Regions from separate parts of the Homo sapiens genome. Here regions 2, 3, 4, 5, 6 and 7 are each linked to region 1. Evidence: promoter capture Hi-C in 16 types of primary human blood cells and fetal thymus (Javierre and others, 2016). All regions are on one chromosome and are shown on one strand. The core of a region is centred on a gene start or on the middle of the fragment in contact, and the rest is flanking DNA. Distances in the headings are between cores, read along the strand shown. Region 1 holds the start of RAB22A (RAB22A, member RAS oncogene family). Region 2 overlaps NELFCD (negative elongation factor complex member C/D). Region 3 has its middle 5.2 kb from the start of SLMO2-ATP5E. Region 4 has its middle 3.0 kb from the start of CTSZ. Region 5 overlaps RBM38 (RNA binding motif protein 38). Region 6 overlaps ZBP1 (Z-DNA binding protein 1). Region 7 overlaps RAE1 (ribonucleic acid export 1).

What was found. The method cuts DNA at HindIII sites, captures the fragments that hold promoters and counts their contacts. A CHiCAGO score of 5 or more calls a contact.
Region 2: a fragment that was not itself captured here is called in contact with the fragment with the promoter of RAB22A in region 1 in 1 of 17 cell types (neutrophils); the score reaches 6.5 in neutrophils.
Region 3: a fragment that was not itself captured here is called in contact with the fragment with the promoter of RAB22A in region 1 in 1 of 17 cell types (neutrophils); the score reaches 6.0 in neutrophils.
Region 4: a fragment that was not itself captured here is called in contact with the fragment with the promoter of RAB22A in region 1 in 1 of 17 cell types (neutrophils); the score reaches 5.8 in neutrophils.
Region 5: a contact is called between a fragment that was not itself captured here and the fragment with the promoter of RAB22A in region 1, in 1 of 17 cell types (neutrophils). The highest score is 5.7, in neutrophils.
Region 6: a contact is called between a fragment that was not itself captured here and the fragment with the promoter of RAB22A in region 1, in 1 of 17 cell types (total CD8 T cells). The highest score is 6.0, in total CD8 T cells.
Region 7: a fragment that was not itself captured here is called in contact with the fragment with the promoter of RAB22A in region 1 in 1 of 17 cell types (monocytes); the score reaches 5.5 in monocytes.

What each region holds. Positions count from the first base shown.
Region 1 is chr20:58,307,878-58,311,301 of GRCh38, forward strand. RAB22A (RAB22A, member RAS oncogene family) reads left to right here and starts at 1,838. Exons shown (of 7, transcript NM_020673.3): 1 at 1,838-2,135; 2 at 3,166-3,245. The coding sequence starts at 2,100. It also overlaps the pseudogene PPP4R1L. RefSeq lists silencers at 1,307-1,866, 1,907-2,236. The HindIII fragment of the contact is 7,008 bases long and covers 1-2,670 here.
Region 2 is chr20:58,990,882-58,994,052 of GRCh38, forward strand. NELFCD (negative elongation factor complex member C/D) reads left to right here. Exons shown (of 15, transcript NM_198976.4): 8 at 29-194; 9 at 431-565; 10 at 1,000-1,139; 11 at 2,117-2,231; 12 at 2,568-2,663; 13 at 2,743-2,883. Among named protein-coding and RNA genes, the nearest start is that of NELFCD, 11 kb to the left of the region's middle. The HindIII fragment of the contact is 1,395 bases long and covers 1,225-2,619 here.
Region 3 is chr20:59,046,375-59,049,731 of GRCh38, forward strand. No RefSeq gene overlaps it. Among named protein-coding and RNA genes, the nearest start is that of SLMO2-ATP5E, 5.2 kb to the left of the region's middle. The HindIII fragment of the contact is 8,431 bases long and covers 1-3,357 here.
Region 4 is chr20:59,008,610-59,011,889 of GRCh38, forward strand. No RefSeq gene overlaps it. Among named protein-coding and RNA genes, the nearest start is that of CTSZ, 3.0 kb to the left of the region's middle. The HindIII fragment of the contact is 1,400 bases long and covers 686-2,085 here.
Region 5 is chr20:57,407,387-57,410,327 of GRCh38, forward strand. It overlaps RBM38 (RNA binding motif protein 38), which reads left to right. Exons shown (of 4, transcript NM_017495.6): 4 at 157-1,947. The coding sequence ends at 460. Among named protein-coding and RNA genes, the nearest start is that of RBM38-AS1, 16 kb to the left of the region's middle. RefSeq lists enhancers at 1,581-2,086, 2,254-2,413 and a silencer at 2,759-2,928. The HindIII fragment of the contact is 9,296 bases long and covers 1-2,941 here.
Region 6 is chr20:57,604,884-57,608,243 of GRCh38, forward strand. All of the region lies in intron 7 of ZBP1 (Z-DNA binding protein 1), which reads right to left. Among named protein-coding and RNA genes, the nearest start is that of ZBP1, 14 kb to the right of the region's middle. The HindIII fragment of the contact is 791 bases long and covers 1,712-2,502 here.
Region 7 is chr20:57,353,380-57,356,403 of GRCh38, forward strand. RAE1 (ribonucleic acid export 1) reads left to right here. Exons shown (of 12, transcript NM_003610.4): 2 at 653-749; 3 at 1,333-1,437. The coding sequence starts at 660. Among named protein-coding and RNA genes, the nearest start is that of RAE1, 3.6 kb to the left of the region's middle. The HindIII fragment of the contact is 1,499 bases long and covers 852-2,350 here.

The DNA of each region.
Region 1 (3,424 bases), core at 588-3,087:
ACCCAGCCGAAACTGCGCCTTCTGAGTTAATGTGTGTAAAGAGTTTAAGACTGGGCCGGGCGTGGTGGCTCACGCCAGTAATCCCAACACTTTGGGAGGCCGAGGTGGGCGGATCACGAGGTCAGGAGATCGAGACCATCCTGGCTAACAGAGTGAAACCCCTTCTCTACTAAAAATACAAAAAATTAGCCGGGAGTGGTGGCGGGCGCCTATAGTCCCAGCTACTTGGGAGGCTGAGGCAGGAAAATGGCGTGAACCCAGGAGGTGGAGCTTGCAGTGAGCCGAGATCGTGCCACTGTACTCCAGCCTGGGCTACAGAGCAAGACTACGTCTCAAAAAAAAAAAAAAAAAAAAAAGAGTTTAACGCTGTCTGGTCCATGGTAAGTTTTCAGTAAACACCAACTCTTACTATTAGGAAACCTGAAGATGTGGAATGAAAGATGAGAGGAAGTACTGTATATGACTGGCGTACAGTACGCCCCCAATTAATGTTAGCTATTTGGATGATTTATATAGGGCTTCTTCACCAGCAAGCACTCCGGTGCTCGGTAATTTTCTGTTTACAAGTAGGCTCTCCCCACACCCTGTGAGCTCCCTGCGTGTAGAGCTGTTTTCAACACATCCTTGCAGGTTCGGAGCCCAACACGTGGCCCCCAGAGCAAATAGCTGCTCAGTAAGTTTCTTGACAGGAGAGAAAACGCTTCCTTCCTTCACCAGAAATGCGAACTTGGATTTCTAAGATGACACCTCCCCCAGCTACCAGCCCTTAACATGATTCCAAAAAAGAGGGCAAGAAGGGACAAGGGTCCCACCCAAGAAATGCGGGGGCCAATGGGCTCCATGGGATAAGAGATGGAGCCGGGCTTGTGGCCAGGACACTTGAGAAGTCCGTGCAACTCCGTGACCGGCCACACCGAGAGGGGGACCTCCCAAACCCCCCAGCAGTCCTAAAAAGTCCCTAGGAAAAGGGCAAGGCCCTGAGAGGGAAGTCACCCACCTCCCAGGTGGCGGACCCCCCGCCCGCCCAGGGTCGACTAGGACTTGGGACTACCCCCTCCGCCCATCCCACGGCAGCTGCAGGCGCAGGAAGAAAAGAAGTGACAGGGAGTCCAAAGTTTCCCCAACAACAAAAATCCTTCCCCCGAGGGAAGGGAAGGGCTCCCACCCTCAGCCCGCCCCGCCCAGGGAGGAGGGACCGCCACCAGTGGATCTAGGCAGTTGGGGGTCCCGCTGTTCTGGTCCCGACAAGGAGTGCCTGGCTTGAGGTTCCCCCGCCCCGCGCTTCGTGCACTCTGAATTCTTTGAGAGGGTCCCAGGGAGGGACAGGGGTGCCCCAACTCTTACTTACAGTCGTCTAAGTCATCCTGCAAGTCCACAAAGTACAGGGGGATCTCTGAAAACCAAGAAACACACAAGAAGTTACCAGGGGGCTGCGGCGAGAGGGGACGGGGTCGGGCAGGGGCCCCTCGGCCTCGCGGGGTGGTCACGGGGCGAGAGAGAGAGGGGCACCCCTGGCATCCCCCGAGCCCAGCCCCACTCACCCGCCATCTTGGGATGGGCATGGAGGCGGGACCGGCAGGGGCGGGGCCCTGCAGACAGGGGCGGGGCCCTGCAGACAGGGGCGGGGCCCTGCAGACAGGGGCGGGGCCCTGCAGACAGGGGCGGGGCCCTGCAGACAGGGGCGGGGCCCTGCAGACAGGGGCGGGGCCCTGCAGACAGGGGCGGGGCCCTGCAGACAGGGGCGGGGCCGTCGGCTTCGGGCCCCGCCCCCGATCCGCGCCGGCCGGCCGGCCCCGCCCTCTCAGCGAAGGTGGCTGCCGAGGTGGGCGGGGAGGTCAGGTGACGCGGCCGGCGTCCCAAGATGGCGGCGGCGGCGGCTCCCGGAAGGCCGCGGCGGCGTCCCGGCTGCTAAGGCGGGCCCCACGCGGCTGGCAGCGGACAGGCCGGACCTACGGCCGGAGGACGGGCGGCAGCCGCCTCTGCGCGGACCGGGGCTGGGCCGTGCGGCGGCAGCGGCGCCAGGGGATGCTCTTGCTGGGCCTGGCCTCTCCCTTCTCAACTTAGGGCGGCGGCGGGCCCGCGCCCCTGGCTCCCGGGCCATGGCGCTGAGGGAGCTCAAAGTGTGTCTGCTCGGGGTGAGTGGCGGCGGGTCCGGCCGGGAGGGCCACGGGAGGCTGGGCTGGCGGGGACCCCGGATCCCCCCTGTCCCCTCATCCCTTCCCCCCTCCCACGTCCAAGACGCTGTCTGCCAGCCCCGTGGACCCTCCCTCCAGCTCGGGAGCCGTCCCGCCCACCTCTTGCACTCTCGAAAAGGTCCTGGAGGCCGAAGGGACCCTTCCCCTTCCCCTCCCTGGAGCCCGTGGACTCTTCCCGCCCCACAAAGAGCAAACAGCCCCCCCTTGCCTCTCTATTGCATCTGGGTTAAGAGAGGTTCTTAAATAGTTTTCTCCCAACTTACCAAGGTATTAGTTGGGAGTTGGCCAAGTCTTCCAAAGTAAAACCAATAACAGGTCTTTAGGTTTTACAAGCAGCATTAGCCTACTTTGTCTCTTGGGTGTTTTTGAACTTGTGGGATACCCCTGCCACTTGTCCAAAGAGTTACTTTGCCAAGTAACTCTTCCTGTGGAGAAAAGGGGTGTTCAAATCAGGAAGCCCCAAAGACTAGTTTGAAGCTTCAGCTTCCTGTCTTGTCAGGAAAGACAAGGTGTTGGCCATTTCAAAGCCTTCTTTCTGAAATTGATGCTGTCATTCCAGAGTTTCTGCCTTAAAGATCGGCAGGAACTCCAATAACTAATCTTTATTCCCCCAAATAGGGTGGGGCTAGGATTCATCAGGGATTACTCAGAGGTAACTCAGGAGTTCAAAGTTTACTAACATATGTTAAAAAGCAAGTGGACTTGTTACTTTTTACACGAAGCAGAAACTTTGGGTCTCTCAAAAGGTCCTAATCTGTCTTAACGGCAAAAACCTCTCCCTTTTAGTACAGTTGGAATTTCCTAATTACTCTACTGAATTTTTATGACAACCGCTTTTGTGTTCCTCCGTTTATAAAATTTACACGTCTAGGGTGATTTTTCTAAAATCCTGAACTTATGCCACAAAGTAGTTTTTGGTGTCTGCCAAAAGGTAAACTTTTTCTCAGTCCCTCATCTCGTTCTCTTTCAGGATACAGGTGTAGGTAAATCGAGTATTGTGTGGCGGTTTGTGGAAGACAGTTTTGATCCAAACATCAACCCAACAATAGGGTAAGAGACTTTTATTTGATACACATCTAAAGGTGCATTGAAAATCCTTCCAAATACATAGTGTGTTACAGGTGTAGGCCCTGCGCTTTGTAGTCATTGAATTCTGAGTCGCTGGTTCGCATCATCTCTGGAAGGACTTGAAAGAGTCCAGTGAGGATCTGTGTATTTTAGGAAAATTA
Region 2 (3,171 bases), core at 672-3,171, 680 kb after region 1:
AACGGGGTCTATGGTTTTTCTCATCAAGAGGTCATGACGCCAGTCAGATCACACTAGCCTTGGGCACAGCTGCCTCCTACCCCAGGGCCTGCCAGGCTCTCGGGGCCATGCTGTCCAAAGGAGCCCTGAACCCTGCTGACATCACCGTCCTGTTCAAGATGTTCACAAGCATGGACCCTCCTCCGGTTGAACTTGTAAGTTGCTTCTCAAGAATCCCCAATGTCAGCTGGTAAGGTGACTTTGGAAAGTCTGTGCTTGTCTGATTGTCTGAAGGCTGTGAATGCAAATCCATCATTGTCCTGGTCCTTCCTCAGTCACACTCTCTGCCTGGAGCCTGTTGGGCCCCTGCTGTGTAGGGAACCCTGAGGGGAGGTGGGTGAGCAGTGCCCTCACGCCTGCCATCCCGAACTGGGCATATGCTTCTCCTCAGATCCGCGTTCCAGCCTTCCTGGACCTGTTCATGCAGTCACTCTTTAAACCAGGGGCTCGGATCAACCAGGACCACAAGCACAAATACATCCACATCTTGGCGTACGCAGCAAGCGTGGTTGAGACCTGGAAGAAGGTACCATCGGTTCTGGGAATTTGTGGATTTTTTAGGAGACAAATATCCTCCTCTGCTTTGATATTATTTTGGAATTTTGGCTGCAAGAAATCTTGACCCTCCCTAGTATCAGGCATGTGTTTTCTTGTGTTTCTGCGTAGAGAAAGCACTAAACGTCTCCAGAAAATGTGCGTAATGTCTCCAATGCTCTGCAAACCGTAAATTGAAATGTGACTAAAGAAATGAAACTGATTTCCGTAAGACATGGACAAACACTAGTCTCATTGCTTTTCAGTTTCTGTACACTGTGTGACTGTGAAGTTTGACAGCTGAATTGACTCCCAACTTAAGTAGAAATAGGGAAAGTGCTTTGCAAGAAGTGGCCGACACCAGAACACCCCGACAGCAGGGATATCTGCCCTGTCAGGCTCACCAGCTTGTGTGTGTGTTTTCAGAACAAGCGAGTGAGCATCAATAAAGATGAGCTGAAGTCAACGTCAAAAGCTGTCGAAACCGTTCACAATTTGTGTTGCAACGAGAACAAAGGGGCCTCTGAACTAGTGGCAGAATTGAGCACACTTTATCAGTGTATTAGGTAAGCAAAACGAAACTCAGTTCTTAAATCAGTCCTTTGGGGAGGAGGTCGTTTGAGTTTTCATATTGAAAGCTCAAATAACAAAAGCTTCAGCGATACTTGTTCATTTTATTTATTTTTTCATTTTTAAACAGTATGTAGGGAACTTTAAACAGCTTTAGCAGCATGAGTAATTTTCAGATGTTTATTTGCCAGAAGTCTGTTGAGTACAAATTAGGCTAAGTAAAAGATAGCCAGAGTTAACAAAAATTGATTTGAAGGGTCTATTTATAGGTAAAGTTATGCCCACAAAGTATTGCTTACATAGAAATGATTTGTGATTATGCCAATCATATAAATAGACGTGTCCTAGAAATAGTGTGTCCTCTTAGGCATGTCTTTCCCCTAATAATTTATACTAGGGATGAAGAAAGAGTTTGCTAAATAAAGGTAAACTTCAACCCAGTCCACCAAACTCACTGAGTATCACTCATTAATGATCTTTTCCTTTCGATAAGTGGTTTAAAGTGAGCAGAGAATTGAACTCTGCTTCTTGCACCGCATGTTGAGTGGCTGCTGATCCATTCACACTATTTACTAATAAGCAGAGCTTACGCCAGGCACAGTGGCTCTGGCCTGGAATCCCAGCAATCTGGGAGGCCAAGGCAAGAAAATAGTTTGAGCCCAGGAGTTTGAGACCAGTCTGAGCAACATGGTGGACCCTCTCTCTACAAAAAATTAGCTAGACATGGTGGCACTCACCTGTAGTCCCAGGTACTCGGGAGGCTGCAGTGAGCCATGATTGTGTCATTGTACTCCAGCCTGGAAGACAGAGTGAGACCCTGTCTCAAAAAAAAAAAAAAAAAAGGGTTGGGGGGCGTATTGAAGGGTGAATGATGGAGTCATTTGAGTTTGTTTTTAACTTTCCTTTAATGCTTTTCTAGCATATTTTGTGTTTTAAATTGTTTTTTAAAGGAAGCATTCTGCCTTAACTGTAGGTTTCCAGTGGTAGCAATGGGTGTGCTGAAGTGGGTGGATTGGACTGTATCAGAACCAAGGTACTTTCAGCTGCAGACTGACCATACCCCTGTCCACCTGGCGTTGCTGGATGAGGTAAGAGGGCGGAGAGCTGTTCACAGCCTACACAGTGTCTGTCTCATGCTGTTTACGTTGGCATTAACATTGCATCTATTCAGTGAGTTTAGAGGATACTCTTCTCAAAAATAGTTATTTCTGTCCTGAGGATTTTCCTCTTAAGGACCTAGCTTCATTGACTGCAGAAATTTCTTAACCTCAGTCAAGTGTTACTGGAAGCTGATGGCCCTGGCTTAGGTGTCAGGACCTTCTTCCACAGTGATAAGCTCTTTGGTGGCTGTGACAGTGCCCAGTTTCTCTGTGTGCTGAGCGTGACCACACTGCTCAGCGAAGCTCCCTCTGGCCTGTTTGTAGATCAGCACCTGCCACCAGCTCCTGCACCCCCAGGTCCTGCAGCTGCTTGTTAAGCTTTTTGAGACTGAGCACTCCCAGCTGGACGTGATGGAGCAGGTGAGCAGTGCCCGTGGGGCTTGCCAGAGGGCTGAGGAGGACCCTCTCTAACCAGCTCCCTGTCCCCCTTCTTCTGTAGCTTGAGTTGAAGAAGACACTGCTGGACAGGATGGTTCACCTGCTGAGTCGAGGTTATGTACTTCCTGTTGTCAGTTACATCCGAAAGTGTCTGGAGAAGCTGGACACTGACATTTCACTCATTCGCTATTTTGTCACTGAGGTCAGCAATGCACCGTTGGTTTCATGTTTCATACTGTTTACACTAGCACTGCCCTTTTTGGCTTAATTTAGTTCATTTTGTACCTAACTGAGAACTGTGCTTTCTGATGTAGTGATGACAATGACAGATACTCGTTTACCAAAAAGCACCTTCTGCCTGCAGCAGCTGTATGACACACTTTACCTCCATTACCACCCTGGGCATCTGAATGTTGGAGATGGGTGGTGTCACCGGCCGGTGGGGGTGGGGAGGGATTTTTTCCAAACTGATGGCCATTTCACCCGGATG
Region 3 (3,357 bases), core at 722-3,221, 740 kb after region 1:
ACCTGGCCTGCCACACCATTGCTACTTGACTTTTTATATCACTGTGGTCTAAGAAGAAACGTACTTGGTCTTTGTCCCGCATTCTTGTCACAGAGCTCCTAAAACCCTTGGGATTTCCTGAATGATAGGGATGCCTTTGATTATTTATAACAAGCTCCTTTTGATACCATCTCCAGGTAGATGGTGTTGGAATTGTAATGGCTGCTAGAGAATTGTGTGGTTGGTGGAGAGAACTCCCACACATCTATGTCGGAACGTATGTGTGTTGAGAGTCTAGTAGTAGGAAAAACCATGTGTTTTTGTCAGAATCAGCTTCCTTACAAATACACTTGAAAGGAAACTTTATATAACTACTTTCATTAGAAAACCAGTATTTTTACCCTGATAAATGCTAAATACATGACTCTTAAAATAAGGCAGTGAGCCCCGTGGGCCTTCCTAACACCTTCTCGTCTCCTCACAAAGTGGGCATGTCTCACTTTGGTGCTGACTTCCAAACTTCCCAGGTGCTTTTTGGACTCTCATCCATTCTCCTCAAACTCCAAGCCACCTTTTCCTCTGAATCTCTCAGCAGTGACCTTTATCTCTAAATTCACTGTGAACTCCTTCAACTGTCTTCTTCTCTTTGTATTCTCATGAATCCTTTCCGTATATCTTCTTAACTCTGAGAATCTTTCTCTCTTTCCCTCCCTCCTTCCCTCCCTCCCTCCTTCCTTCCTTCTTTCCTTCCTTCCTCTCTCTTTCTCTCTCTCTTTCTTTCTTCCTTTCTTTCAACAGAGTCTTGCTCTGTCTCCCAGGCTGGCGTGCAGTGGCGTGATCTTGGCTCACTGCAACCTCCTCCTCCTAGGTTCAAACAATTCCCCTGCCTCAGCCTCTTGAGTAGCTGGGATTACAGGCATGCACCACCGCTGGCTAATTTTTGTATTTCTAGTAGAGATGGGATTTCGCCATCTTGGCCAGGCTGGTCTCAAACTCCTGACCTCAAGTGATCCACCTGCCTTGGCTTCCCAAAGTGCTGGGATTACAGGCGTGAGCCACCATGCCCGGCCTCGTTTTTACATTTTTATTTTAGAGACAGAGCTTTGCTCTGTTGCCTAGGCTGGAGTGCAGCAGCATGATTATGGCTTACTGCAGCTTTGACCTCCTGGGCTAAATCGATCCTCCTGCCTCAGCCTCCCGAGTAGCTGGAACTACAGATGCGTGCCACCATGCCCGGCCATGATAATGTGTCCCTTCTCCTTTCCAGTCTTTTTGTCTGTGCTCCCTTCATTTAGTCATTGCACAAATAACAACTGATCATCTATTCTGGGTCATCCCTATCACACTACAGCAGCAGGTGACAATTTCCCTAGGGACGATATTCCCCAGGGGACATTGGCACTGTCTGGAGACATGCTCGGTTGTCCCAACTGGTGGTGAGGGTGCCACTGGCATCTGTGGGTAGAGGCCAGCGATGCTGCTAAACATCCTACAATGCACAAGTTGGCAACTGACTCCCTGCCCCAACAAAGAGGGATCTGGCCCCAAATGTTGACAACGTCAGTGTTGAAACCCTGGGGTTCATCTAACAGGCTCTTATCTCTGTCCCCGTCTACCTGTCTGGCTTTGATGTTTTCTCCTCCCATTCTCCAACTCAGCTGAACCCACAGCCACATAAATCTCTCGCTATCCTTACAGGCCATGCATTTCCACACCCTTGAACTTTGCACATGGTGTTCTCTCCACCCAGAATGCACTTTCCTCTGATTTGCCCTGGAAAGTCTTACTCATATCTTGAGATTCTGTGCAAATACTCTACTCTCCAAGTGTCTCACTGATACGCCTCTCCCCACTAGCTGAGCACAGTGCCTTGTTTCGGCTTCTGTGCTCCTGTTTGCATTTGACACAGCCCTCATTATGACACATCACTGTGGAAGTGTTGTGTGTGTGTCCACACTGCAATTTAAAGTCCAAAGTGATGACTTCTGTGTTAGAAGGATGGGGGTGGGAGCATGGCTCCTTATCAACCTCTTCATCATTTGAGTCCTTACTATAAATGTGGCCACACAGTGAAGCAAGAATCATCATAACAAGAAAATATTTGCCACTGAACCAAATCTGTACATATAAACTTGGTGCCTTATGAAAGCAGCAGCATAGATCCTCATCGCTTGAACCTATGTGATTGCTGGTTAGTCTCCCACTGATTGTCCAAGGCTAAAAATAACACAAGTGGTTGGAAAGTGAAACCAAAACTCTTGGAGAAGATGCAGAATTTCATCAAGTTGATGAGAATGATATTCAAGAACTCCTTCATTATACACTAACCCATCAATAGATGACTTTGTGTAGAATTAAAGCAGTTAACATTTGAGCAGACAAAATTGGCAAGGGATGGTTCACAAAGAAAATGATATGAATGGCTAAAAGTTGGGAAAGACCCTTGGGAAAAATATTCGAGTCCTTGAATATTTCTGCAAAGATGTCCATCTCTGCGACTGAGTTGTGAAATTCAAACATATTTTGCAGTGCTATTTTCCAGTTTGGTGAGGAAAATCATTGCAGAAACCAGCACTTGGTTCATTCTATGTGATAACAATTTGATAGAGTTACAATTTTAATCTAACACATGTATGTATATATATATATCTCATATAAATATCTATCATTATATATATCACTAAATATACACATATGGATATATGTGTATATATATAAACTTACTATCATTACTTTATTTTATGTTATTTATTTATTTTTGAGATGGAGTCTCACTCTGTCGCCCAGGCTGGAGGGCAGTGGCACAATCTAGGTTCACTGCAACCTCTGCCTCCTGGGTTCAAGCAAATCTCCTGTCTCAGCCTCTCAAGTAGCTGGGATTACAGGCACCCGCCACCACACCTGGCTACTTTTTGTATTTTTAGTAGAGATGGGTTTTCACCATGTTGGTCAGGCTGGTCTTGAACTCCTGACCTCAAGTGATCCGCCACCTCGGCCTCCCAAAGTGCTGGGATTACAGGTGTGAGCCACCACGCCCAGTCAGTATCATCATTTTATGTTTCATTTTTCAGGGTAAAGTGTCAGCTGCACTTTTTGTTTTTCATCATTTACTGTAAAATATTGATGTTGCTTTTAAGTGGATTTGCTTTCAGTGAGCTTATTGGGTACCAATTGCATACCAGAAATGACAGCTTTCTTCAAACTCCAACAGCTAGGACTACACAGGGAGGTCGGTGAGGAGAGAGATGCAATCAGTACTTCGGTTACAAACAATAAGGGCAGCGGTGATAGGAGAGGAGCAGGAAATTGGAGCCATGTTTAGGAAGCTGTACTGGCACAGCCCGGGACACTCTTACCTTTTCACTTGTGGCCCAGGTG
Region 4 (3,280 bases), core at 136-2,635, 700 kb after region 1:
GACACAGCTGCCCTTGCCAGGTCATCAGGTGGCATCTACCAAAGCGGCCGGTTTTTGGCTTCTTCTAAAGAAAAAGCTAAGAACTCACAAAATTGTGTGGTAAGAGATATCGTGCCCCTCCCTCCAGGTACCCATAGTTATGATCCAGGTACTGTGAAGTCCAACAGCACATTCTACAGCATGAGAAACAAGCCTGGAGAGGGGAGGGCCCCTTGTGCTTGGCCTCTGATGCCTGAGCTGTGATGTCCTGGGCCCTGGTCCCTGAATCTGGGTGAAAAGGCACCCAAGGTGTAAGCTTTTCTTTCCTGTAGCATGGGGAGAGCTGGGGTGCTCTGAAGATGCCCCGAGACTCTCCGAGCAGGTCCAGCGCATGTAGAAGGTATGACAGGCATGGTCAGCAAGGCAGGCACACGACCCCTGCAGTCACATGAGGCCCTAAGTCCAGAAGTGTAATGCAGAGCTGAACGAGGGGCTCTCCAGGTTCACTGTGCCCTGGGCCCTGCAAATTATGTAGCTGGGTCTGATGACAGCAACCACACCTGCTCCATCACAAGTCCTGTACATCACCCGCTTTCAGCCCAGAGCCTCTGGCAAATCAAACTCACAAACAGGGGTCAGGAGGAGGGGTGAGATGGTCAGGAAGGGGAATAAACATTCACAGTCCTGCTCCCAAATGCTGGCACAAAGCTTAATTTATCTGGGGAGTTCCAAAGAGGAGACTCTCCGGATTTACCCTATTGAAAGTTGGTTAAAGGGAAGGATATTTTTAGGCTGGTAACAAAAAGGACGTCCAAAGTTGACAACTTGTGCCCCCTGGGTTTCCCTAACATAGAAGCAATTCAAGATCAGAATCTGATGGAATAGGGCAGGAAGAGAGGGAGGGAGCCTATCCATTTGAAATCATCATTTACTTTTTCTTTTCTTTTTTTTTTTTTGGAGACAGAGTCTCGCTCTGTCACCTGGGCTGGAGTGCAATGGAGCAATATCGGCTCACTGCAACCTCCACCTCCTGGGTTCACGCAATTCTCCTGCCTCAGCCTCCTGAGTAGCTGGGATTACAGGCACACACCATCACACCTGGCTAAGTTTTTGTATTTTTAGTAGAGATAGGGTTTCACTACGTTGGCCAGACTGGTCTCGAGCTTCTGACCCCGTGATCCTGCCGCCTCGGCCTCCCAAAGTGCTGGGATTACAGGTGTGAGCCACCGCGCCTGGTCTGAAATCATCATTTTCAAGCCAAGAAGGAAGGAAGGGGGCCTGATGAGACTTATCTCTCCAGCCTCTTCTCATGGGTCCAACACAGCAAACCACGCAGAGACAGGGCTCCTCATCTCTGAACCTGGCCCTAGTCGAGTGGATGCATGTCTGGCTGCCAGACTGCTCCGAGAAGCTGGCGGGCTGTGTCATTTTGGGGGTTACTAAAATCGTGCAGCAGAGGATCCTAAATAGGATTTTTGGTTTTCTTGGTTTTGGGGTTTTTGTTGGTTGTTTTTGTTTTTCCCTTAACTCGATGCAAGATCTTAAACATGTTCCTTGTGGGGGCGGGGTTGGGGATGGCCACAAACCCACCCAAACTCAAATTCCAGTGCTGCTATTAGTGAAGGATGTTTAGCTGGAGGAGTTCTCTGAAGGGCACACAGATAAAACCAGGAGGTGTCTGGGACTGGAAAAAGAGGAGGGAGCACATTGGGAACCTGATAGACAGGCCACCCCAGCCATTTCTTGCTGGGGACTGCTTGCTGGGGGTTGAGTTTAGCCCCAGAGCTGTGTCTCTCTCTTCAAAGCAGACTCACCTGCAGAGCAGCTTGGGGACTCTTGGAAACCGGAAAGGTGTTTCCTCCTGACTTGGCTGCAGGTGCCTGCAAGGTGGTTTTGTGGATACTGACTCTTCTTCTCATCTGGGCCGGGATCCGAAGAGGCTTGGGGCAGGGCACTTGGACCTTCCTACCTCTGAGGCCCTACTTGCCTAAGCATTGCTTCTAGCAGCTCTTTATAAGCAGCTGTGTGCCACCGCCTTCCAGCTTGGGGCAGAATTGAGTAGGTATTTAGAGCAAGGCGTCTCCCCTGAAACCACTTTGCCTGGAAAGCTTGGCACCTATCCTGGGTTTTCCTTCCTGGAGGTAATGGAGTCATTCCTGCTCCCAGTGGTGCTTGAGGGCAGAGGGCTGAGCCAATGACATTCTAGAGGACTGTGCAGCCGCATTTGATCCTTTGCACAATGCTGTGAGGTGGGGGTGGGGGTTGGGAGGCAGATGCTATTACTCCATTCTACTGGCGAAAAGACTGAGCCTCTGGAGATGTCAGGTGACCTGTGCTCAGCACGAGGCTCCTGGGTGGCAGGTTCCAATCCAGTCCCTTTTTTTTTTTTTTTTTTTAACCCCATGAATTCTCCTGGAAAACACATGATCCAAGGCCACAGACACAAAAGCCTATTCATTTCTAAAAATAAGGCTGATTTTTCTCCTCATTCTGATAAAGATCAGCACTCAGGCCACGGCTGGCCCACCTTCCCAACCTGGAGGAGGAGAACACAGATGAGTTTTCATCGACTGTGGAATGGCCTCGAAATCCTTTTTCTTCTTCCTTTGTGCCATATTGTCTGGCTTCCACCCCGGCAAGCTGCAGACATTTCCTATTATTCCACATTCCTGAGTTTAGCCACATCCTGGATACCGGCATTTGTTTGGGTGGATGCCGACAATGCTCGCTAGGCTAGGCTGGTTTTGCAGGGCACGACGGTTCCCTCACCAGCTACAGGAGTTCCTCTTGATCCACTTGGTCAACGGGTCAGAGGCACTCGCTAACACCCAGATATCTCTGCAGTGCAGGCCTTCAGATAGGGCGGGCCAGGTTTGCAATCCACCATGCCACTGTCCCCAAGCACCACCATGCATCACATCCTGGCCTGGTTGTGTTATGGGAAAGGGGATCCCAACCCAGATCCCAAGAGAGGGTTCTTGGACCTCACGCAAGAAGGAATTCGGGGAAAGTCCATAAAGTGAAAGCAAGTTTATTAAGAAAGCAAAGGAATAAAAGAATAGCTCCTCCACAGGCAGAGCGGCAGCACGGGGTGCTCAGCTATTTATAGTTACTGTTACTTCTTCATTATACACTGAACAAGGAGTGGATCATTCATGAGTTTTTTGGAAAGGGGTGGGCAATTCCAGGAACTGAGGGTTCCCCCGCTTTGTAGACCATACAGGGTAACTTCCTGATGCTGCTGTGGCATCTGTAAACTGTCATGGTGCTGGTAGGAGTGTCTCTTAGCATGCTAATGCAT
Region 5 (2,941 bases), core at 428-2,927, 900 kb before region 1:
GCAGCATCTGGCCAGGTGCTGTTTCTGTGCCCATCTGACCGATGAGGAAAGTCGGGGCTCGGGGTGGGGGGCGGCACGCATCGTGTACCCCACTGTTCTCCCAGCTGTATTCCCCAACTCCGTTCTGGCCCTAACCTGCTCTGCTTGGCCCCACAGGCTGACCCCGCACTACATCTACCCACCAGCCATCGTGCAGCCCAGCGTGGTGATCCCAGCCGCCCCTGTCCCGTCGCTGTCCTCGCCCTACATTGAGTACACGCCGGCCAGCCCGGCCTACGCCCAGTACCCACCGGCCACCTATGACCAGTACCCATACGCCGCCTCGCCTGCCACGGCTGCCAGCTTCGTGGGCTACAGCTACCCTGCCGCCGTGCCCCAGGCCCTCTCAGCCGCAGCACCCGCGGGCACCACTTTCGTGCAGTACCAGGCGCCGCAGCTGCAGCCTGACAGGATGCAGTGAGGGGCGTTCCTGCCCCGAGGACTGTGGCATTGTCACCTTCACAGCAGACAGAGCTGCCAGGCCATGATGGGCTGGCGACAGCCCGGCTGAGCTTCAGTGAGGTGCCACCAGCACCCGTGCCTCCGAAGACCGCTCGGGCATTCCGCCTGCGCCCTGGGACAGCGGAGAGACGGCTTCTCTTTAATCTAGGTCCCATTGTGTCTTGAGGGAGGACTTTAAGAATGACTGAGAACTATTTAAAGACGCAATCCCAGGTTCCTTGCACACCATGGCAGCCTCTCCTTGCACCTTCTCCTGCCTCTCCACACTCCAGGTTCCCTCAGGCTTGTGTCCCCACTGCTGCATCGTGGCGGGGTGTCACAGACCCTCTGCAGCCCCTGGCTGCCCTGGACTGTGCAGAGATGCCTGACTCCAGGGAAACCTGAAAGCAAGAAGTTAATGGACTGTTTATTGTAACTTGATCCTCCCGAGCTGTGAGCGCAGTCTGAGGTGTGAGGACACGGCCTCCTGTTGGAGTCCCATTTTCTCCATCAGGGCACGTGGGCGGCTTCCTCAAGCCCGGAGGAGCTCCCAGGCGCACAGGGGCCGCCGGTAACAGGGGCCGCCGGCCAAAGGCCCCTTTCCAGTCATAGCACTGAAGTTGCAACTTTTTTCTTGTAATTGTTTTGCTACTAAGATAATTTCAGAAGTTCAGTCTATTTTTTCAGCGGATACTGCCGCCACCAAGAATCCAAAACCTATTTTTGACTTGGAGAGACTTGCTTTTGTTGGTTCCGCCCGTGGAGACGACGATAGTGTTTCTGTATAATAAAGTGTCTGCCGGCTCGCGGGCCAGGATCCTCTCGGTGGGATGGGCACCACAGACAGGAGGCCCCTCAGGCCCGTGCGGGCCACTGTCTGCTGCCGCCTGCCGGGGTGGCAGAGTGAGTTGTCTCAGGACCCCGTCACTGCGACGTTGACACTCCTCTCCCTTCCCTTCCTCCCCAACTCCCCAAACACTGTGGAAGGGGAGAAGGAAGTGATCCACAGCATTCAGGCCACTTGGGGTCTAGACCATGGTGGTGCCAGCCTGGGGGGGGCAGTGGCCCTCAGCTCTGCCCGCTGGAGCGGTTGAGTGCAGAAGGGTGCGCCTCTTCCCTCTACCCCCGCACCACCTGCTGTGTGCCAGCCTGAGACGGTTCCTGCCTGTCTTGGGGGTTGGTGGAGGGTGGAGGCAGTTCTGCCAGCCGTGGCAGGGCTGCTATGGGGCATCCAGGGCTGTGGGGGTCTGGAGGAGGGGACATGAGGTGAGAGGTATCCTGGCCGAGGGCGGGGGGCAGCGGGGGGTCTCCCTCCGGACCTACCTCAGGGAGCTGAGCGTGCAGGCGCTCCAGGGCAGGCCTGGGACAGAGTCAAGGCTCAGAGAATAAAGGTAGCTAATCTCATCATAATATTTTTATTAGAATGTTCTGATGATAAAAATAAAACTTGTTTTCTTTAAAGAAAAAGTTGATCTAATTTTTCTCAAAACGCAGAGCTCCCCTCGTGCCTGTGGGCATCACCCATGCCCCGCCCTCCTGGCTCAGGAACCCAGGATTTCACTGGCAGCCGTGCATAGAGCGCCTGGCCTGCACCGGCCGCTGAGCCTCAGTAGCAGAACAGACGCAGCCCCTCTTCACACCCGCTAATGCAGGGGAGGCCTGGCGTCCCAGCCGCCGTGCATCATCCAGCATCAGCTTCAGACCCGGAGAGGACTGCGCTTGGGTTACTTCTTGGCGCTGTGGCTGGGGAGGGGCCTGGACGTGGATTGTGATTGGCAGCCCCACCAGATCCCTGTGGAATAGGAGGACAGTTCCCCCAGAGAAGGGGGGTTGCCACCAGAAGACCCTGAATGTGGGTTCCTGAGAGGACGTTGGCAGGTGTCCAGGACAGCTGCCCTTAGGGTAGAGTTGGGAGGGAAGCCTTGGTCTGGGGCTGGATAGTCCCAGCATCTGGAACTCAGAGCTGGGGAAATCACAAGGCCTTCATAGAGGAGGTGTCAGGGCTGGAGAATCCATCAACTCCTTCCTTGAATTGCTCACTCACTGTGTCATCCCGAGACGTGTGCTGGGTCACACGCAAAGCGCTGGGGATAGAGCAGACAGGGCTGCCCTTTGGGTTTATCATCTGCTGGGGGAGACACAACAATGCCCCAGGGTGATGGAGACTGACAGGTTTACGGCAGGGAGGGGATAGGGATTCTGTGGGGGTCTGCACTTCTTCCCAGGCCCTGCCGGCTGGCCCCTCCCTCCCACTGTCTCAGTTTGCAAACGCTTGTGAGGGGTCAGGGAGGGCAGCATGGGGCTTTCAGCCCGGAGGAGGAGACTTGCTGCAGCTGATAAGAACTTGGGGATCCACGGAGGGGGGCTACGGGTACTGCCAGGGTTATCGTGAAGGCCACTCGCAGCCTGCAAGTTTCCTGTCACTATCAGCTGGTGACAGCCTCTGGGACAGGCCTTCGGG
Region 6 (3,360 bases), core at 857-3,356, 700 kb before region 1:
TTAGATTTGTACAAAGTCTTGAACAGGGAGCCCCACCTTTTCACTTTGCACTGGGCCCCCAGATCATGTAGCCAGTCCTGTCCTAGTTTCACAGCAGTGAGATGGAGGAGCAGAAATAACACCAGAAAGCCCCCATCCCAGGGCTCTCCCAGTCCTCCCAGGGACCCCAAAAGACGGCTCTACATGCTCTGGCACTGACAGTCTCTGATTAGCAATTTCCTCAAACAAAACAAAACAAAACAAAACAAAACAAAACAAAAACCATTCCAGGCCTTACACATCTCAGGATAAGGTCCCGCCCGCCACTCAAGGAGGAAGTGACAGGCAGACCTCATTTTATCTCACTTTACCTTATTGTACTTTGGTTTATTACACTTCATAGATATTGCACTCATTTTTCACAAGTTGAAGGTTTGTGGCACCCTGTGTGAAGCGAGTCTATCAGTGCCAATTTTTCCAGCAGCATATGCTCACTTCCTGTCTCTGCGTCACATTTTGGTAATCCTCACAATATTTCACACTTTTTCATTTTGATTATATGTGTTATGGTGATCTGTGACCAGTGATCTTTGATGTTGCTATTATAATTGCTTTGCTTTGGGGTGCCACAAATATCACCTGTAGAAGATGACGAAGTTAATTAATAAATCTGTGTGCTCTAACCTGTCACTGATCAGCCATCTCCTCCTCTCTCTCCCTCTCCTCAGGCCTCCCTATTCCTTGAAGACACAACAATATTGAAATTAGGAAAATTCATAACCCTACAATGGGCCGGGCGCCGTGGGTCACACCTAGAATCCCAACACTTTGGGAGGCTGAGGTGGGCAGATCACCTGAGGTTGGGAGTTCAAGACCAGCCTGACCTACATGGAGAAACCCCATCTCTACTAAAAATACAAAGTTAGCCAGGCGTGGTGGTGCAGGTCTGTAATCACAGCGACCCAGGAGGCTGAAGCAAAAGAATCCCTTGAACCTGGGAGGTGGAGGTTGCAGTGAGCCAAGATTGTGCCATTGCACTCCAGCCTAGACAACGAGAGCAAAACTCCATCTCAAAAATAAATAAATAAATAAATAAATAACCCCAAACGGCCTCTATGTGCTAAAGTGAAAGGAAGAGTTGCACGTCTCTCACTTTAAATCAAAAGTGAGAAATGATTAAGCTTGGTGAGGGAGGCATGTCCAAAGCTAAGACAAGTTGAAAGCTAGGTCAAAAGTTAGCCAAATTGTGAAGGCAAAGGAAAGGGTCTTGAAGGATATTAAAAGTCTTACTTCAGCAAACACATGAGTGATGAGAAAGTGAACCAGCCTTGTGGCTAGTGTGGAGAAAGTTTTAGTGGTCTGGATAGAGGATCGAGCCAGCTACAACAATCTCTTAAACCTAAGCCTCGTCTAGGGCAAGGCCCTTGCTCTATTCAATTCTAAAGGCTGAGAGAGGTGAGGAAGCTGCAGAAGAATAGTTGGAAGTGAGCAGAGGTTGGTTCATGAGGTTTAAGGAAAGAAACCGTCCCCATAACATGCAAGTGTGAGGTGAAGCAGCAAGTGCTGATGGAGAAGCTGCAGCAGGTTACCCGGAAGCTCTAGCTAAGATCATTGATGAGCGTGACTACACAACAGAGCAGGTTCTTAATGTAGATGAAACAGCCTTCTATTGAAAAAAGATGTCATCTAGAACTTTCATAACTCGAAAGGAGATGTCAATGCCTGGCTTCAAAGCTTCAAAGGGGACAGGCTCTCTTGTTGGAGATTAATGTAGCTGGTGACTTTCAGCTGAAGCCTCTCCTCAATTACCATTTTGGAAATTCTAGGGCCCTTAAGAATGATGCTAAATCGACTCTGCCTATGTTCTATGAATGAAGCAACAAAGCTAGATGAGAGCACCTGTATATAGCTTGGTTTACTGAATATTTTAAGCCTAGCATTGAGACTTACTGCTTAGAAAACAAAATATTCCTTTGAACATTTCACTGCTCATCGTCCATACCACAGGATCTGAGTGTTCCGCATCCTGGATTGAGGGCCAAAAAAAAATTTTTTTTTTACTACTCGTTGACAATGCACCTGTTCATCCACGGGCTCTGATGGAGATGTAAAAAAGAATTAACATTGTTTTCATGCCTGCTAGCACAGCATCCATTCTGCAGCCCATGGATTAAGGAGTAACTTCAACATTCACTTCTTATTCTTCAATAAATATATTTTATGAGGGCATAAGTGCAACACAGAGTGATTCCTCAGATGGATCTGGGCAAAGTAAGTTGAAAATCTTCTGGAAAAGATCACCAATCTACATGCCGTTAAGAACATTTGTGATTCATGGGAGGAGGTCAAACTATCAACATTCACAGGAGTCTGGAAGAAGTTGATTCCAAATTTCATGAATGACTTTGAGGGGTTCAAGACTTCAGTGAAGGCAGCAACTGCAAATGTGGTGGAAATAGCAGGAAAACACAAATTAGAAGTGGAATATGAAGATGGGACTGAATTGCTGCAATCTCATGAGAAAGCTTGAACAGATGAGTTGCTTCTTATGGATGAGCAAAGAAAGTGGTTTCTTGAGATGGCATCTATTCCTGGTGAAGATACTGCGAACATTCTTGAAATGACAACAAAGGATTTAGACTGCTATATAAACCTAGTTGGTAAAGCAGCAGCAGGGTTGGGGAGTCTTGGTTCCAATTTTGAAAGAAGTTCTAGTATGAGTAAAATGCCATCAAACAGCATTGCATGCTACAGAGAAAGCTTTCATGAAAGGAAGAGTTCATTGCTGCAGCGAACTTCATTGTTGCCTTATTTTAAGAAATTGCCACAGCTGCCTCCACCTTCAGCAACCACCACCCTGATCAGTCAGCAGCCATCAACATCAAGGCAAGACCTCCACCAGCATAGAGATGATGACTGGCAGAAGACAGGTGATGGTTAGCATTTTTAGCAATAAAGTATTTTAAAATTAAGGTATGTACATTGTTTTTTAGATATAACGTGATTCAGTGCACACCTAATAGACTAGAGCATCGTGTGAATATAACTTGTATATGCACTGGGAAATCAAAAATTTGCATGACTTGCTTTATTGGGGTGTTCTGGAACTCACCCATAATATCTCTGAGCTATGCCTATTGATGTCTCTTGGGGACAAAGAGAGGTGGGTGGGTCAGGGCAAGGGGCAAAGATGTCATCAGCTCTTCTGCTAGAACCTTAGGGAAGAATGTCAGGATGTTGCAGGGCAAATCTGGGAGTGTGACCATTTTTTTTTTTTGAGACAGAGTCTTGCTCTGTCGCCCAGGCTGGAGTGCAGTGGCATGATCTTGGCTCACTGCAAGCTCCGCCTCCCAGGTTTACGCCATTCTCCTGCCTCAGCCT
Region 7 (3,024 bases), core at 351-2,850, 950 kb before region 1:
CCTGACCAAACCCTGGTGGGCCTGTTAGATTATGATATTCAAGAAAAAACCCAGGGTGGGAGAGGTTCTTGCTGGGTAAATGTCCAAAACACGATGCCCGACCTTTTTAAAACTTTTACGAAGAAATTGCTGATTCGCTTCCCGGACTGGTTGTTCTAGGTAGTTTCATGCGGATGCTGACCTAAACTAGAATGTAGAAATTAGTAGGAAAGTGAATGCCCACTAGGTGGAAACCTGAAAGCACGGGGACCTGCGATCTTGTTTACTGTTATATTCCTGCTGCGCAGCTCAGGGTCTCTATGTAAAAAATGAGTGAATTTATTTTCTAGCTGGTGCCTACAAAATAATCTGCAATGTATCCATACTGGTTTATTAATGGTAACAAATGAACCGTACTAATATGAGATAATAGGGGAAACTAGATATGGAGTGTATGGGAATTCTATCTTTACTATTTCTGGAAACCTAAAACTACTCTAAAATAGAAGGTTTATGTTTTGAAAGCACTCTGCTCATTGCGCTCTTGTCTGAAAAGTGAAGCCTGGCCTCAAGCCACTTTGAGTATTTCTCTTCTGCCAGTTAATTATCTTACCATTGCCTCTCAGTGATATTAAGAGAAAACCCATCCTTAACATTTTTCATTACTTTTTAGGTTCAAAATGAGCCTGTTTGGAACAACCTCAGGTTTTGGAACCAGTGGGACCAGCATGTTTGGCAGTGCAACTACAGACAATCACAATCCCATGAAGGTACCACGAAAAGCTTCCTGGGGCTTGTAGGAAGAGTTTGGGCAGAGTTTCTCCCATCAAGGACAGAACCCGAGATGACTTGGGAGCCTCCTTTAGGCTGAAAGCTTTGAAACTTTGTCTAACTCATGTTTCTGAAACACTGGAGCACAGAAAATGTGTCCCCGTACTTGTGTCCTGTTCTTCCTGGCCTGCCAGGTCTCCAGAATCACCCAAGGTGCAGATTCCGGTGCAGATTCCCAGGGCCTGGCCCAGCCAGGACTGTTGACTCAGAATTCCCATGGTTGGAGAGAGGGGATGGCAGGTGAAAACTGTGATCTAGCACTGTGGGGCCAGAGTGAACTGGTCATTTAGAAAACAAGACCATGGGCATTTCATTAGCAGCTGCTACTGCTAGTCCTGGTGGTGCTGGTACTTTCTCTAGCTTATTTTTTACTCCTGTCTTTGATCAAAGTAAGGAAAGGTCTAATTCAGTTAGTTCTTGTACACAAGGAAAGGCCACCGTGAGGTAATTAGTGAGAAAGAAAACAATTTGGAATGAAGTTGTGAGCGTGCATACATTTTAACATTGACTTTTTTCCCGCAGGATATTGAAGTAACATCATCTCCTGATGATAGCATTGGTTGTCTGTCTTTTAGCCCACCAACCTTGCCGGGGAACTTTCTTATTGCAGGATCATGGGCTAATGATGTAAGTGCTCCTTAAATACGTGTTCTAGAAATCATCTCTCTTTGTATGGCCAAGGTTAGCTTTAGCTCCGTTGTTTCCCAAGTAAATGAATCAGTTGGACTTATTTATGGCCTTTTTTGAGAAATCAATTTAGGGGGTGTGAACCCTTCTGAATGGCAGACATTATTCTTACACCCGTTTTTGTTAGGAAAGCACAATCATATGTGTTGCTCGAAATTTTCTACTTTAGTTCAGTCTCTTGAAGTTTATTCCCAAATCAAATATCATATTCATCCAGAGTGAACATTATACCCAGTGGCACACACCAACAAATTCCCTTTCTTGGCATCCTGACAGTGTTCCTCAGGCATGTATGAAACTTTTTCAACGTTAAATAATAGCACAGATTTGCCTAGATACTTACTCATCATGTACAAAAAGAAAGACAAAAAAATTACAGTTTACTAAAAGAAAGAAAACTCTGGTAGAAAAATAAGCAAAGGGTGTAAAGAGGGACTTCACAAAAGAAAGAATAAACCTGAACCATTCATCCATGCTTGTAATCAGATAAATGCAAATTTAAGACTTTTTTTTATTAAATTAACAAAATTAAAAGTTTAAAAGAATAATAGTGCCAGCAAGGATAAGCTGAAACCCTGCATGTATGGCTGGTAGGTATGTAAGTTGGCTTTTCCACAGGATAATTGGCAATAGTTATCAAAAATCCTTCAGCTTATACCCTTTATCTCACTGATACCCTTCTGGGACTTGAGTAGGAAATCTGATAATGTACTTCATCTGCATTATCTAAATTAACCTTTATAACAGCCAAAGCACTGTGAACTTGTGAAAATTTTGAAAATTTTAATATCCAGTAGTAATGGCAATGTATAGTATGTTTGTATGATGGAATACCATTGTAAGTTTTTGGAAAAGCTTTTGAACTGTAGCCTACAGCACAGGGGCAGCAGGGGTTAGGAGAACAGGAGGGAGGATGGTAGTCAAGGTTGAGCAAGCTTGCTTTCTACATGTAATTTTTAGAAAGATTTCAGATTATTTGCTGCTTAAAAAAAGGATGTTTCAAGTTGAACAGGCTAGTGATGCAGGTGAGGAAAGCTGTAGCTGCAAAAGTGAAGACACTGTATAATCTAGTGTCTTCCAGAAAATATGCGTACATGGAAAGAAGACTAAGAGCACACAGAACCATTAGCTGTGGTTGTCTGTGGTGTGATTAGGGTGATTTTTATTTTTTTGCCATATTTACAAAATCTCTAAAATGTATTACTTTTTTAACGGAGGGGAGATTATATAAAGTATTCAGAAAAGAGGTAAGTTTCTACTTTGGTCTTGATTCTCTGAATGGTAATGGGTAAGTGATATTCTACTTTAAAAGACATATCTCATAGATGCATTGAGAAAATTATCTGCAATTTTATGTGTAAGCAATAGAATTTGTTTATTTTAATAGCTTAGGCGAAGAAAACAGTTGCTTTCATAGATATTTTAATTCCTTTGTTCTTGAAGTTAGATAATTAGGTTGCTATGAGAAGTCTATGTATGGTTAAGGTGTACCCCATTAGTTTTTAGGTGTTAAATGCAAGCAATACA